2 separate regions of the Homo sapiens genome follow, and region 2 is linked to region 1. Evidence: promoter capture Hi-C in human tissues and cell types (Jung and others, 2019). All regions are on one chromosome and are shown on one strand. Each heading gives the region's core, a stretch centred on a gene start or on the middle of the fragment in contact. The rest is flanking DNA. Distances are from core to core; before and after follow the strand shown. Region 1 holds the start of VKORC1L1 (vitamin K epoxide reductase complex subunit 1L1). Region 2 has its middle 48 kb from the start of KCTD7.

The links. Contacts are between HindIII fragments. The study calls those that stand out against the background at their distance.
Region 2: a fragment that was not itself captured here is called in contact with the fragment with the promoter of VKORC1L1 in region 1 in 1 of the 25 tissues and cell types used here (heart left ventricle).

The regions. Positions count from the first base shown.
Region 1 is chr7:65,871,031-65,876,196 of GRCh38, forward strand. VKORC1L1 (vitamin K epoxide reductase complex subunit 1L1) reads left to right here and starts at 2,044. Exons shown (of 3, transcript NM_173517.6): 1 at 2,044-2,535. The coding sequence starts at 2,342. RefSeq lists silencers at 1,736-1,795, 1,816-2,315, 2,029-2,208, 2,756-2,825 and enhancers at 1,891-2,442, 2,994-3,545. The HindIII fragment of the contact is 24,487 bases long and covers 1-5,166 here.
Region 2 is chr7:66,578,358-66,583,523 of GRCh38, forward strand. It overlaps the pseudogene RABGEF1P1. Among named protein-coding and RNA genes, the nearest start is that of KCTD7, 48 kb to the right of the region's middle. The HindIII fragment of the contact is 3,079 bases long and covers 992-4,070 here.

The sequences.
Region 1 (5,166 bases), core at 794-3,293:
CTGCCTCAGCCTCTCAAAGTGTTGTGAGCCACCCCACCTGGGCAGAGCAAGGATGTTTTTGAGGACTGTGGTAGATAGCTTCCTCATATTCATGTCCTGTGTAATCCTCTCCCTCTGAGCATGGGCTGGACCTAGGGACTATTTTCTTTTTCTTTCTTTCTTTCTTTTTTTTCTTCTTTTTTTGAGATGGAGTTTTTCCTTGTAAGCCAGGCTGGAGTGCAATGGTGTGAGCTTGGCTCACTGCAACCTCCACCTCCCAGGTTCAAGTGATTCTCATGCCTCAGCTTCCCAAGTAGCTGGGTTTACAGGCATGTGCCACCGCATCCGGCTAATTTTTGTATTTTTAGTAGAGACGGGGTTTCACCATGTTGGTCAGCTGGTCTCGAACTCCTGACCTCAGGTGCTCTACCCACCTCGGCCTCCCAAAATTCTGGGATTACAGGTGTGAGCCACCATGACTGGCTGGACCTAGAGACTATTTTCTAAGTAGCAATAGACTTCGTAAAAGTGATGGGATGTCACTTCTGGGATTAGGTTTCAAAAAAGGACTGTGATCTCACTCTCATTTTCTTTTTCTGTCTCTTCCTCTTTCTCCTCCCTCTCCCTGGGGTAAGCCTGCCGCTTCTTACCAAGAGGTGCAAGTGGACAGGAAATGATGTCTCCAGCCAACAGCCAGAGAGGACCTCAGGCCTGCCAGCAGCAGTGGAAGTGAGTTTGAAAGAGGATTCTGAAGCCTTGAGAGAGCTGCAGCCCTGGCTGACAGCTTGATTGTATCCTCATGAGAGCCTGAGCCAGAGGACACAGCTAACCTCACCCAGATTCCTAGCCCGTGGAAACTGTGAGGGAAAAAAAAGTTTATTGTTTATTAACTGCTAAATTTGGGGTGATTTTTACCCAACAATAGATAACGAATACAAGGATATTGCTTATTATTCAAAATCACTATATAAAGCCCCTGAAAAATTGAAAGCTGCAACCAGGGAAACACTGAAAATCTCCAAGAACCCTGTGTTTCTTCTTAAAGACAGTGAGAAAAAGCACATACATCTGTTTTCCTTTTAGTTTTGGCCACCAGGAAGCTCAGAGCCAAATTTATGATGCAATTTTAATAACTATGTAAGCCCCTATGGCCTGCTTATCTGTGTTCTTATTCCTGGCCTTTCATTTTATTCTGACTTTTCTTTTTCTTCGTCCTGATTGTATTAGCTCATCTTTATTTTTCTATATTATATGAGTTATGGTAAGCAACTTCAAATTCAGCTTACGGAAAAGCAAGGCATTCGTAAATCTCTCTTTTTTTTTTTGAGACTCTTACTCTATCGCCCAGGCTGGAGTGCAGTGGCACGATCTTGGCTCACTGCAACCTCCACCTCCCGGGTTCCGGCAATTCTCATGCCTCAGTCTCCCGAGTAGCTGGGATTACAGGCGCCCACCACGACACCGGGCTAATTTGTTTTTGTTTGTTTTTTGTATTTTTAGTAGAGACGCGGTTACGCCATGTAGGCCAGGCTGGTCTCGAACTCCTGACCTCAAGTGATCCACCTGCCTCGGCCTCCCAAAGTGTTGGGATTACGGGTGTAAGCCACTGTACCCGGTCCATAAATCATTTTTTAAAAATAGTTTTTAAATTTAAAACATAGTTTTGCACATTAAAAAAAAAGTTTTGCACAGGTCTAACCGAAGGTGGTGGTGGGAAGATCAGGTCATAGGTGTGGGTCTCTGGAGCTCCAAGCATTGGCCAGGGTTGATTTGGATTGGGTCAGAAATATACAACGAAAAAGGGAAAAAGGATGGCAATTGATTGCCATCCCCAGAGGGAGGGGCCGAGGGTTCGCCCAGTCACCCACAGTGGCATCCTTGCAATGTGCTAGTTAGACCGCTCCTTTAAGTCCCTCCCGCACTGGCCCGCTCGGCCCCGCCCCTCTCTGGCTCCGCCCCTCCCCACCCCTGCCCCGCCCATCCCCACCCCTGCCCCACCCCTTTCTCCCCCGGGCTCCACCCCTCGCGCGCGACCGGCCGCGCGGCGCAGCGCCACGCCGCCTCAGTCTCCGCCCGCCGATCCGGCCTCTTCGGCCGTTGCGCACTCCACCCCCTCCCTCCGCGCCCGCGCGCGCCTTCCCCGCCCCGTCCGCCTCACTCCTTTTGGGGCGGTTGGGCCGCGCGCCTGTGGGGGCGGGGCCCGGAGCAGGCCACCGAGCCAATGGGGCGCGGCGGCGGCGGCGGCGGTGGTGGCGGCGGCGGCGGAGGCGGCGGTGGCGGCGGTGGCGGCTGGGTCGGGCCCCGACGGGCGGCGGCGGCTGAGGTGGAGGCGGAGGGAGGCGGCGGCGGCGGCGGCGGGAAGATGGCGGCTCCCGTCCTGCTAAGAGTGTCGGTGCCGCGGTGGGAGCGGGTGGCCCGGTATGCAGTGTGCGCTGCCGGAATCCTGCTCTCCATCTACGCCTACCACGTGGAGCGGGAGAAGGAGCGGGACCCCGAGCACCGGGCCCTCTGCGACCTGGGGCCCTGGGTGAAGTGCTCCGCCGCCCTTGCCTCCAGGTAGCCGGCTTGGGGGAGTGGGCCAGGAGCGGCCGAGCGGGGCGAGGGTGGAGTCTCGGGGTGGGGAGCGCGCGGCGGGAGCTCAGGCCTGGGGGCGGCGGGGACCGGGCCGCTGGGGAACTGACGGGGTCGGGTCGGGGCCAGGCGGGGGGCGGCGGCGGGGCGCTCCTGCCCGGGGGGCGGCCTGAGCCCAGGCCGCGGGGCGGAGGTGGCGGGGCCGCGAGGCAGCCGGGGAGGGATGAGGTGGCAGAGTGCAGCCGGGAGGCCGGGGCGGACGCGGAGCGGTCGGGCGGGCTGGGGCCCGGCTGTGCAGGAGCGCGAGGGGGCTGCGGAGGGTGGGTCCAGGCTGGCTTGACAGGTTTCCTGGTTCTCGGGAGGCGGGCCGGGGGTGTGGGACCTTGTCCACCGCACCCTTGAGACCAGCGGCAACCTCTTGTCCCCCCGATCGCTGCAGCCGAGGCTTTGGGGCCGGCGCGGAGACAGGGGGGTTGCCTTTCCCACTGTCTTCCTGGTGCTAGGACAGGTGTTTCCGTGGTCAGGCCTCTTTGTACTCCAGCGCTAGTGAGAATTTGCAGACTTAACTGGGACGGTGACATTTGCTGGCAAACACGAATTTGACCCTACTGTGGAAGAAGATACCCGCACTTAACATATCTGATTTCTTGGATTCCCTCTCGTATGTTTCAGTGTGCCAGGAGAAGGAAATGGTCTGAGTTTGGGTCTAGTTTAAGCTTCATTGGAGTAAAGGACAAGTATGTTATGTATATGGTGGTGTTTTAGGCATTGGAATGACTTTTAAACGTTGTTGCCTATTAGCATATTCGAGACCAGCATATTGGTCAGGCTGGTCTCGAACTCCTGACCTCAGGTAATCCACCCACCTCTGCCTTCCAAAGTGCTGGGAATCAAGCATGAGCCACCGCGCCTGGCCTGCTTAAGTGCTTAAAATTGACTTTTCTTGGCCGGGCACAGTGGCTCACGCCTGTAATCCCAGCACTTTGGGAGGCCGAGGCGGGTGGATCATGAGGTCAGGAGTTCAAGACCAGCCTGGCCAACATGGTGAAACCCCGTCTCTACCAAAAATACAAAAATTAGCTGGGTGTGGTGGCATGTGCCTATAGTCCCAGCTACTCGGGAGGCTGAGGCAGGAGAATTGCTTGAACCTGGGAGGCAGAGGTTGCAGTGAGCCAAGACCACACCATTGCACCCCAGCCTGGGCAACAGAATGAGACTCCATCTCAAATAAATAAATAAAATATAAATAAATAATTTTTAAAAATTGACTTGTCTTTAAAAAAGTGTATTTAGCATACACTCTAAATATTCTCATAGTTATATCCTGCAAGAGCTGCATGTTTGTGCATAAAACATCAAGTAGTATATTAAAAGTATGTATAAGTACATGTAAGACTAAAGGTAACTGGATCTCTTTATAGTTTTAAATGTGAATTTAATATGTTGTGACTGAAAGTGATGTTTCATTGTGTAGCTGTGGACATAAAATAGTTTAACTTAGATGCTTGCCAAAGGAGGGTAGGTAAAAATAAGATTTGCTAATAAGAAGAGTAGATAACTTATTTGCCATGTATACAGTGAAATTAAGAAATTTGTTCAATTTGATCAGCCTGTTTATAAACTACTTGCAAAAATCAAGTAGCTTATAAACTACCCATTTAATAAATGAATTTACAAATCAACTTGTTTTGCAGGTAGTTTATATGCAGGCTGATCAAAATCACATATGTATATATACATATATAATCACATATATGTACATATATAGACTCATTTTCTTTTGGAAGTGTGTAGACAAAACATCATTGAAAGTTTTTATTTTGTCAAGCTGAAAGACACTTTTCTTTTTTTTTCTGAGACGGAGTCTTGCTCTGTCACACAGGCTGGAGTGCAGTGGTGCGATCTCGACTCACTGCAACCTCCACCTCCCGGGTTCACTCCATTCTCCTGCCTCAGCCTCCTGAGTAGCTGGGACTACAGGCGCCCGCCACAACGCCCTGCTAATTTTTTGTATTTTTGGTAGAGACGGGGTTTCACCATGTTAGCCAGGATGGTCTCGATCTCCTGACCTCGTGATCCGCCCTCCTCGGCCTCCCAAAGTGCTGGGATTACAGACGTGAGCCACCGCGCCTAGCCTGAAACAGACTTTAAATGAAAGCTGATTATTGGACACCTCAAGTTAGTTTTTTTTGAGTGGTGATTGCCATGTAGCAGTAGTACTCAAATATGTGACTCTTTTAGGAAAAGAAAGTTTGAGCCCAGAGGAAAGTTAACAGACAAAGATTCTGAAGAAAATCATCTTCCAGGATCCAGAGTCAGCACGTGGTTTTGGATTGCTCAAACTCACTTTATTCTCATTTCGCAAGCCCTGTGTCTTAATCCAAACACGGTAAGGTAGAGATTAATGAGAGAATCTTGAGAGGCAGGTGTTATCTGTGTGTAAAGTCCTCTATTATTTTGGGGAGGCATAATGATGGAAAGTTCCAGATTTTATATTTCTAAAGAAATATTTCACCGAAATTAGTAGGCTACAATAGAAATGCTGATTTTTCAATTCTACCATGTACAGCCAGTAAAAACAATAACACACCACTATCTCCTGTCACCATCATTTCA
Region 2 (5,166 bases), core at 1,281-3,780, 710 kb after region 1:
AACAGAATGCTACTCAGGAAAACAACAACAACAGGTATCAGAACACCCAACAACTTCGATGAATCTCAGAGGCTTTATGCTGATAGAAACCAGCATCTTAGTTCCTTCTGGCTGCAGTAACAAAATACCATAAACTGGGTAGGTTATAAAAAACAGAAATTTATTTCTCACAGTTCAGGAAGCTGGCAAGTTCAAGATCAGGAAGTCAACAGATGTTGGTGTCTGGTGGTTCACTGAAGGTACCTTCTCCCTGTGTCCTCACATGGCTAGGCTCTCTGCGGTCTCTTATAGGTGCACTAATCCCAATCATGAGGGCTCCACTTTCATGAACTAATCACCTCCCAAAGGCTCCACCTCCTAGTAGCATCACCTTGTGGATTAGAATTTCAACATATGAATTTGGAGGACACACAAAGATTCAGACCATAGCAGCCATCTTAAAAGTTTACATACTGTAAGATTCCATTTAAGAACTAGGGATAGGAAAGAATGTGACTTATAAAGGATTAGCACGAGAAAGTTTTTAGGGGTGATGAAACTGTTCTGTATTCTGATTGTGGAGGTGTTTACATAAATCTATTAAAATTTAGAAATTTGCAGAACATTATATTCCTCCCAAATCAATTTTACTCTATGATAAAAAAAACAAAACAAAACAAAAAAAAACCAACCTCAGCCGGGAACGGTGGCTCACACCTATAGTCACAACACTTTGGGAGGCCGAGGCAGATGGATCACCTGAGGTTAGGAGTTCGAGACCAGCCTGGCCAACATGGCAAACCCCGTTTCTATTAAACATACAAAAATTAGCCAGGCGTGGTGGCAGATGCCTGTAATCCCAGCTACTCAGGAGGCTGAGACACGAGAATCACTTGAACCAGGGAGATAAAGGTTGCAATGAGCCAAGATCACGCCACTGCATTCCAGCCTGGGCAACAGAGCGAGACACCATCTCAAAAAAACAAAAAACAAAACAAAACAAAACACTTGAGAGGCAATTTCTAGGTTGGATTAGAGAGAAGTACAGAACAGGAGACACGGATACTGACCAAGACACAACTACAGTCAAGGACTAGAGGTAACACAGTGGGTAGCTAGGTGTGGTGGCGCTTGCCTGTAATCCCAGCTACTCGGGAGGCTCAGGCATGAGAATCACTTGGACCCGCAAGGCAGAGACTGCAGTAAGCCAAGATCCCACACCAGGGCACTCCAGCCTGGGCAACAGAGTGAAACTCCGTCTCAAAAATAAATAAATAAATAAATAAATAATCTTGCCATTATCATCCCGTGTCCCTTTTCTTCCCTTTCAAGAGAAATGGGCAAAAGGAAATACTTATTTTTTCGCATAGATCAATTATGTTTTTTAAATTTTGTACTGTTAAGTATGATAGTACTACTCAATGTTACTAAAATGAACATAAGTTTGGGGAGTCTGCCTAGCACGTGCAAATACCTCCTGTGTATCAGGAAACTGTCCTCTCAATCCACAAATATAAGCTGGCAGCAGCTATATTTGTATGAGGTGAACAGTCCCCCAATTCAGGGTCACAGCTGATTGCCTCCAAATGTGTTAGAGTCTTTTGCTTGGAGTTTTGGAAATGGGACTAAGTCACGGCTGTTCTCTTGAATGATGGAGCTGTGTGACATGATCATCTTCCATCCAGTGGTCTGAGAATCAGGACAGTCTACAGAGTAAAATAGACATATCCCAAGAAGCAGAGAAAAGTAGAAGGTCCTATACGTCCTGAGTGATTTCAATCTCCCAGTTCCAATCCCTGGCTAAGGTTTACATGCACGCCCATCCTCAGATTCTGAGTCATACACCCTGGTCCCCTAACTACTTTTGTCGTTTTTTCTTAAGCTGGTTCCAGTAGAGCCTATTATCTATGCCAAAAGACTTGTACAGATGCTCTTTAAGAGCTAGAAAAACATAAAGGAGTGCTCTGTGGATTACTTGGCATACAATAAAAGCTCACTATGTATTAGACAGAAACAATAGCTCTGAGTCTAAGAAGACTGATTTGGTGTGGACCATGAAATCACAGAGATCAGTCCTATCTGCACTCCAACCCCAGCTCTGCCACGTACTGGAAATGTAACTTTAGGCAAACTATGTAATATTTCTGAAACTCCCTTTCCTATCTCCCTCTCCAACCTCTCTGCTCCTATCATTCTCCACCTTTTCACCCAACTAAGCCTCATAGGACCTGTGCACCCATGACCTTCACTCTCTGGTGCTACACCTGTGATTATGTCACCTTACACTGCAAAAAGGACTTTGCAGATATAATTAAGTTGACTAATCATTAAAATAAGGAGACTATGCTAGATATCTAGATGGGCCCAATGAAAGCACATGAACTCTAAAATGCAGAAGAGAACAAGGACCCAGAATGGCCAAAACAATCTTGAAAAAGAATGTAAGAAAATTGACATTTCCTGATTTCAAAACTTACTACAAAGCCATGGTAATTACTACAGTGTGGTACTGGCACAAGGACAGTCATAGAAATCAACGGAATAAATTGAGATTCTAGAAATAAACCCACAATTCTTCTGTCAACTGATTTTCCACAAAAGTACCAAGACCATTCAATGGCGAAAAAAGAGTCTTTTCAGCCGGGCGCAGTGGCTCGCGCCTGTAATCTCAGCACTTTGGGAGACCGAGGCGGGCAGATCATGAGGTCAGGAGATCAACACCATCCTGGCAAACATGGTGAAACCCCATCTCTACTAAAAATACAAAAAAATTAGCCGGGCGTGGTGGTGGGCGCCTGTAGTCCCAGCTACTCGGGAGGCGACCACCTCAGACTCCCAAAGTGCTGGGATTACAGGCATGAGACACCACGCCCACCCCCAGGCTTTTGTTTTAAGGCTGAGTGTGTTAGGCCTCATGGGCAGCCTCTCTGACTTTCTCCTGCCCTCCTTTTACCTGCCCCAAGGCAGGACTCTACTCTGGATTGGTCTTAAACCCTCCCCAGCGAGGGTCCAGCTCTATACTCTGAGGGACGAATGCTGATGTCAGGAAGCCTCCATAAAAACCCAAGAGAACTGGGCCCGGGAAGCTTTCAGATAGCTGCACAGTGGAGGTTCCTGGAGGGTGTACGCCCAGGGAGGGCATGGAAGTTCTGCACCTTCCCCCATTCCTCGCCCCCAGCATCTCCTTCACCTGGATCCTTTGCAATATCTGTTGTAATAAACCGGTAAACATAAGCATCTCCCTCAGTTCTGTAAACCACCTCAGCAAATTATTGAACCTAAAAAGGCAGCCATGGGAACCCCAACTTGAAGCTGGTCAGTTAGAAGTCCTAAAGGCCCGGAGTTGCAACTGATGGGGGTTAGGAGGGGCAGTCATGGTGACTGAGTCCTCACCCTGTGCGATCTGACCCTATCTCCTGGTAAATAGTGCAGGAACTGAACTAAAAGACACCCAGTGCAGAAAGTGAACTAGAAGACACCCAGCTGGTGTGTTGTGTAGGGGAAGAATCCCCACACATATGGTCATGGAAGTCTTCTGTGTTGATGACTGCTGTGGCATGAGCAGAGGAAAAATACAGTTTGAGGAGTTTTTTCCCTGCACAAATGGGCATATCATAGGTTCTCAAATCTTTGTTGCAAGAACAATAACTGAATGAATAAGGTTATTGTAAAGACTATAGAATAACATGGCTAAAAAGCAATGATACTTAACTGCTTAATAAATACAAAAATCCCTTCCCCGGGGCCAGGTGCAATGGTTCACGCCTATAATCCCAGCACTTTGGGAGGCGAAGGTGGGAGGATGGCTTGAAACCAAGCGTTCAAGACCAGCCTGGGCAACATAGCAAGACCCTGTCTCTATTATTTAAAAATGTTCAAAAATCTCTTCCCCTCATGAGTGATTAGCCATTTCTTCCCCTCATGAGTGATTAGCCATTACGTTAAAATTATACATGCTGGATGGGCACGGTGACTCACGCCTCTAATCCCAGAACTTTGGGAGGCCAAGGTGGGCAGATCACAAGGTCAGGAGTTTGAGACCAGCCTGGCCAACACAGTGAAACTCCGTCTCTATTAAAAATACAAAAATTAGCCGGGCATGGTGGTATGCGCCTGTAGTCCCAATTACTCAGGAGGCTGAGGCAGGAGAATCACTTGAAACCAGAAGGCAGAGGTTGTGGTGAGCTTAGGTGGTGCCACTGCACTCCAGCCTGGGCAACAGAGCAAGACACTATCTCAAAAAAAAAAAAAAAAAATTATACACGCTATCCAACTTTACAAGGGAAAATAAACATCATCTATGGGATGGTTAAATAAACTGGGGCATGATCACACGAGAGAATACCTAACACCAAAAAGAACAAACTATTAACACATGTAAAGACCTGGATGCTCAAGAGCAAAATGTTGAGTTTTTTAAAAAGTGCATCTTAAAAGGTCACATACTCTAGGATTTCTACAACCTTTCCAAATGACAAAACTACAGATATGGAGGACAAATTAGTGCTTTTTCCAGGTTAAGAGTGGCGAAGGCAAGGGAGAGGAGGGGAAGGAAAATGGTGTAAGCAGTTAACCCAGCAGGCCTGAGTTGCTCAAATGATGCACATTCTCAGACAGGCCTGCTTGGTCAGCTGGGTTAGACTGGCCCTTGGTCAGCTCCTAGAAACTAAGGTCTTGTACTAGCCCTATGCCCTAAATGATAAGGGTGTTTTTGTATGGTTACGGTACTGAACCACACTGTCCAGCTTGTCTAGATATTTTGTGCAAACTGTATGATTTATGGTAAACACCTGATTTCCTTCTGGAGTTGCTCTAAAAGTGATAACCACAAAGGGACTATATGCCTATGTGATATGGTTTGGAACTGTGTCCCCACCCAAATGTCATGCTGAATTGTAATCCCCAATGTTGGAAGTGGGGCCTGTGAAAGGTGATCTGATCATGGGGCAGTTACTCATGAATGGTTTCGCACCATCCCCTGTGGTTCTGTGCTTGTGAGATCCGGTTGTTTAAACATGTGTAGCACCTTCTCTCTTGCACCTGCTCCCACCAGGGGAGACACTTTGCTCCCCCTTTGCTTTCCACTATGATTGGAAGCTTCCTGAGGCCTCCCTAGAAGCAGAAGCTGCAATGCTTCCTGTACAGCCTGTAGAACTGTGAGCTAATTAAATCTCCTTTCTTTATAAA